Regions from separate parts of the Homo sapiens genome. Here region 2 is linked to region 1. The links are contacts of gene promoters, found by promoter capture Hi-C in human tissues and cell types (Jung and others, 2019). All regions are on one chromosome and are shown on one strand. Each heading gives the region's core, a stretch centred on a gene start or on the middle of the fragment in contact. The rest is flanking DNA. Distances are from core to core; before and after follow the strand shown. Region 1 holds the start of ADO (2-aminoethanethiol dioxygenase). Region 2 overlaps ARID5B (AT-rich interaction domain 5B).

Region 1 (2,700 bases), core at 169-2,668:
TTGTTCCCTTAACACCGGCATTCTACAAATGAATAAATTGAGGCCCTAAAAGGGTAGGATTTGCCTAACGACACACAGCTTGTAAGTACACACAGTAGGCTGGAACAACAATATCCTGACTCTCGTTTGGTGCTTTTACACCAATTCAAGCTGCTGTTTTTGGTAAGACTGTACTTATTTCTGCTCTGCTGCTCATGCTTTGCTGGGTACTTAGTATTCACTATCCTACAACTTATTCCCTCATCTGCAATCTGGGAATAATAATAGTGCCTGCCTCTTAAGAGTTGCTGCAAGGATTAAATAGTATAACATTCATTATATAATGCACTTAACACAGTGCCTGGCATATTGTGAGTACTCATTAGCCAGGTTATGTAATCCACTTTAAAAAGTATGCCTATTTTAACTGGAGAGGATTCACTGAACCACTCCAATTACAAAATGTACAAGAAACCCATGTTCAGCTTTGGAATCCAAAAAGACTTTAAACTCAGGGTTAAGTTTAAAGTCATAGTATCTAATGTCTTGCTTTTCTAGTCATTTACTTATGCCAAAAGTTAGTTCACGCCAAGGAGAAGGATGCCTCTGTGTAGTGAAACAATTTCACAATTACTGACTGAACTGACTGTTGCACACCACTATTTCTCCTAGGATGCCTCAGAACCATCTAGTAACTCCATCTCTGGGTGACGACAGGGAATCTGCATTTATAAAAGCCCGCTCCCCCTTCTCAGGCAAACCAAGATTTGATAACCACTAGTATGTTCAGAATCCACGACCACTGTAAATGGCCTCTCAAGTCTCTCCAGCAAAAAGCTATACTGCTCTGTAACCAGAAGAGCAGCGTCATCAGGTCCTGATGCAAACAACAGCTGGGCCCAGCTGGGCCCAGCTGGGCCGAGTAACCTTGATGATCACAGAGGACGGCCTGGACCCCCTCCCCTCCTAGGAAACACAAAATTATAAAAGCGCCCTCCTGCAATTCCCGTGGGAGACAGTGCTGCCTAGGCCGCTACGAGGAGCTAAGGCTGACTCAACAGCCTCCTTCCCAGGGGCAAGGCCAAAGGAAGGCGACCCTGCATGGCTAACCAGGCCCCAGCGCGGCGCCAGAAGGTTAACGACCCTCCCTGCCCCTTTCCTTATGAAGGCCAAGAGCCTCCACTACTCCGGGGGCCAGCTGACGGAAGTGCGTCACTCCACCCTGCGGGGAGTGCCGGGAGTTGTAGTCAAGTGGCTACTAATCTTCCACCCCGATTCATCTTTTCTAAAACAAGAAAAACACCTCTGCATCCTGAAAAAGATCGCTTTATGCCCAACATGTGTAATAGTTCCTCTATTTTCCAATCAACAAACTGAACTATCTCAGAGCTCAAGCGGAAGGCCGGACTACAAGTCCCGGCATGCTCCGCAGGGTCCCCGGGCGCCCGGCCACCGTCGTAGGTGCGGGCCGCATGAATGGAGCGCCGGGCGTAAGGCAAAGCCTGGCACCGTCTGCGCGGCCGCTATCTGCTCCCGGAGCGTGAGTGCGGGGTGTGGGGCGTGCGCGTGCGCGCTCAGAGGGGGCTCAAGGCGAGCGCGCCGGGCAGTTGCGGGCGCGTGGCTGCTGAGGTTGGCGGCGGTGCCGCGCGCCCGACGGGCCGGTGGTTGCGGGGCCTCCCGCCTCGACCCGGGCTGGGGGCAGCCGTGGCGGCCGCCGGGGACCGCAAGGGGCGGAGGAAAGGAGGGGGCCGGTCCCGGCACGCAGAGGAGCAGCCGACCATGCCCCGAGACAACATGGCCTCCTTGATCCAACGGATCGCCCGCCAGGCTTGCCTCACCTTCCGGGGCAGCGGGGGCGGCCGCGGCGCTTCCGATCGCGACGCGGCTTCTGGCCCGGAGGCGCCGATGCAGCCGGGCTTCCCCGAGAACCTGAGCAAGCTGAAGAGCCTCCTGACCCAGCTCCGCGCCGAGGACTTGAACATCGCCCCGCGCAAGGCCACACTGCAGCCGCTGCCGCCCAACCTGCCGCCAGTCACCTACATGCACATCTACGAGACGGACGGCTTCAGCCTGGGCGTGTTCCTGCTCAAGAGCGGCACGTCCATCCCGCTGCACGACCACCCGGGCATGCACGGCATGCTCAAGGTGCTGTACGGCACCGTGCGCATCAGCTGCATGGACAAGCTAGACGCGGGCGGCGGGCAACGGCCGCGGGCCTTGCCGCCCGAGCAGCAGTTCGAGCCGCCGCTGCAGCCCCGGGAGCGAGAAGCCGTGCGGCCGGGCGTGCTGCGTTCGCGGGCCGAGTACACCGAGGCCAGCGGCCCCTGCATCCTCACACCGCACCGGGACAACCTGCACCAGATCGACGCCGTGGAAGGGCCTGCCGCCTTCCTGGACATCCTGGCCCCGCCCTACGACCCGGACGATGGCCGGGACTGCCACTATTACCGGGTGCTGGAGCCGGTCAGGCCCAAGGAGGCCTCCAGCTCGGCCTGTGACCTGCCTCGAGAGGTGTGGCTCCTGGAGACCCCACAGGCCGATGACTTCTGGTGCGAGGGAGAACCCTATCCAGGTCCCAAGGTCTTCCCTTGAAGCCACTGGCGCCCAGGAGCGGTGGGCCGAAGACGTGCCCTACCCTACCACAAGGGCTGTGTCTCTACCCCCTAGCCTGGGCGTTGGATCTACTGGAATGAGCAGCAGCCGCTTCCTCGGCAGCCTTGG
Region 2 (2,700 bases), core at 56-2,555, 820 kb before region 1:
AGGGCAAAGTGCCTAGAGGCTAATGGAAGCCACAGGCAGTGCTGTCTTTACCTGGTCACAGTCTCCCTAGAAGACAGTGACTCTGTCATTTTACAGAGCCAGAGAATGAAGCCCTTCTTTGCCCATGGTTACAAATCCAGTGCCTGTTTCATATTTCTCCTCCTTATGCTGCCTCTTCATAAGGCATCGCCTTGATTTCTTCTTAAAACGATTTATTCTGGGGCTGATTTTTCCCAACCTTAATGTAATTGTACTTTAATCAATAAAAAATTTCCTGTGGAACAACTGGGAGGGGTGGGGAGGAGAGAAGCCCAGCAAATGTGAATTGTTGTTTATTTGTCTCTCTTAAACAATGTTTCACGTTAAACCAGTTGCAAATGAAATGAATTGTATTATAACCATCTTGGAAAAATAGCTGCTGATCTCATAAATTCATCGAGCTTCCTGGTTCCAAAGCCCTCTCTTACAATAATAGTAAGTGTTGCTGTGCTCAGTAAATATCTGCCTCCACTTGGCTGGTAGTGAAGGAACTAGAATGGCAAACCCAAGATGGGCCCCCCTTCTGCCTCCTCCAAAATCACAGGTTTTGTGCTGACCCTGAACAGGAATGGAGAGGAACATGGCTTCCCAGGACAGTGACTACTGTCCTGTCTCCTAGGATGCCAGTATCCCAAATATCATCACTCACCCAGTAGGTTGCTCCTCTGGGCACCTCCACTGCCTTGCGTCTGTTCTCAGTGCTGCTTCCGTGGCATCTGCCTTTGTGTCATCGGTTCATCTGGGCACAGGCCTCTCTCAGAACTTATAAGCAGTGGCTATGACTGTGGGCTTTGGAATCAGACAGACCTGGGTTCCAGAGTCACCTTGAACAGGTTGCTTAATCTCTCTAAGCCTCAATTTCCTCATCTATAAAATGGAAGCAGTAAACTTATCCCTCATAGGATTGCTACAGTGATGAAATACACATCAAGGGCTTAGAGCTTGCCTGTCTGTAGTGCATGTTCAATCAAAGGCAGCTGTATTCTAGCAGGACAGTGCAATAACTGAACACTCTTGGTGGGTAGCCTGAGTTTTGTTTTGTTTGTTTGTTTGGAGACAGAGTCTTGCTCTGTCACCCAGGCTGGAGTGCAGTGGCGCACTTTCCACTCACCGCAATCTCTGCCTCCCGGGTTCAAGCGATTCTCCTGCCTCACCCTCCCAAGTAGCTGGGATTACAGGAGCATACCACCACACCCAATTAATTTTTATATTTTTAATAGAGACAGGGTTTTGCTATGTTGGCCAGGCTGGTCTCAAACTCCTGACCTCAAGTGATCCACCCGACTCAGCCTCCCAAAGTGCTGGGATTATAGGCATGAGTCACCATGCCTGGCCTGAGGTTTTTATCTTTTTTTTCCCTGTAGTTTGGCATTAAATGTCATAATGACTGTGGTGTTAATAAACATCAGGAAGTGTGCTTGGCAGTTTGCAAACTGGACCTTATCTTACCTGTTCAGGTGTGTGAGATCTTCTCAGAGATGGAACAAGTTCCTCAAGTTTATGATCTCAAAACCCACAATGTCTGTTCCTCAATGCAGGTCTCTTAACACCTGTCTGTTACATTATGTTGGTCATCCAAGGATGCATTAAGCAGAAAAGAAACACCTCACCTAGGTGTTACTAAATTCCATTATCCTCCTGTCAGACGTCCATGGTGGGAGAGACTTTGGTCCCCACCAACCTGGGTTTCTGCAGGGTTTCACTACCTGCCTTTTTATAGAGTCTTGTATAAGACAAATGGCATTTTAAGCTGTTTTTCTTTTTGCAGGTTTGGAAATCTTATTTAAATCAATGTAATGAGACACTTTGAACAAAATGTAATCATTCTCACTTCTCCACGTGTTGGAAGAAGCAGTATAGAGTTGGAGACTTGGGGTTAGATTAGAGCTGGCTGTCTTCACAGATTTGCATCCTTGCCGTGTGCTCTGAGTTGTCACAGTGTATCAGATAGGTGGGATGTTTTTGCCTCTGTGCTAAGTAAATTACATTCTAGAAGAATTAAGAGGGCTGTTATTTCATGGTGATTTTTTAAAAAAAGTCAGACACCCCAGAACCGAGCTAGAATTGTTGGACCAGTTTTCTTCCCTTTTCTTCTTGGCCTCCTTCTTGTCAAGAACAACTGTTCTCCAGTTTTCAAGAAGGCTCTGTTGAAGTGGAAACATAAGCCTCCATTAAAGTATAAGGGTTTGCGAGGAGGTCAAGGGAGTCATTACTTTGTCTTTTACAACAAGGATGTATTTATATATTCTGAGTTAAAAAAAATGCTTTTAAAGAAGGTGTGAGCAAAGATAAAAATTATTTCTTACAGCTAAAGAAAAGTAGTCTCTTCATCGTTATCCATGAGGGAATAACTCATTGACACTTATAAAAGAGCGTCCTAGCCCAAGATATCATGTGGTGGGAAATTTGATTGGAAGAATCTCTTCCACTAACTTGTGCATGAGAATATTTGTTCCAGCTCCAAAGCCTTAGAAGCTGTTAGAGAAAGGTGGGAGGGTATTTGGCTGGCCTTGGGAAATGGTAACCTAACACTGGAAGCCCCTTGCTTTTGTTCTCCTTATTGTACATAAGAAGATGAGATTTTATTTCCAGATTTCAAAACACGGACCAACTTGCAATAAGAAATAAACCCCCGCCAAGGTGATGAATTATGTTGCTTTT

What was found. Contacts are between HindIII fragments. The study calls those that stand out against the background at their distance.
Region 2: a fragment that was not itself captured here is called in contact with the fragment with the promoter of ADO in region 1 in 1 of the 25 tissues and cell types used here (dorsolateral prefrontal cortex).

What each region holds. Positions count from the first base shown.
Region 1 is chr10:62,803,302-62,806,001 of GRCh38, forward strand. ADO (2-aminoethanethiol dioxygenase) reads left to right here and starts at 1,419. Exons shown (of 1, transcript NM_032804.6): 1 at 1,419-2,700. The coding sequence starts at 1,759. The coding sequence ends at 2,571. RefSeq lists enhancers at 1,174-1,433, 1,904-2,023 and a silencer at 1,474-1,723. The HindIII fragment of the contact is 8,494 bases long and covers 1-2,700 here.
Region 2 is chr10:61,980,208-61,982,907 of GRCh38, forward strand. The region is part of intron 3 of ARID5B (AT-rich interaction domain 5B); the gene reads left to right. Among named protein-coding and RNA genes, the nearest start is that of ARID5B, 80 kb to the left of the region's middle. The HindIII fragment of the contact is 6,104 bases long and covers 1-2,700 here.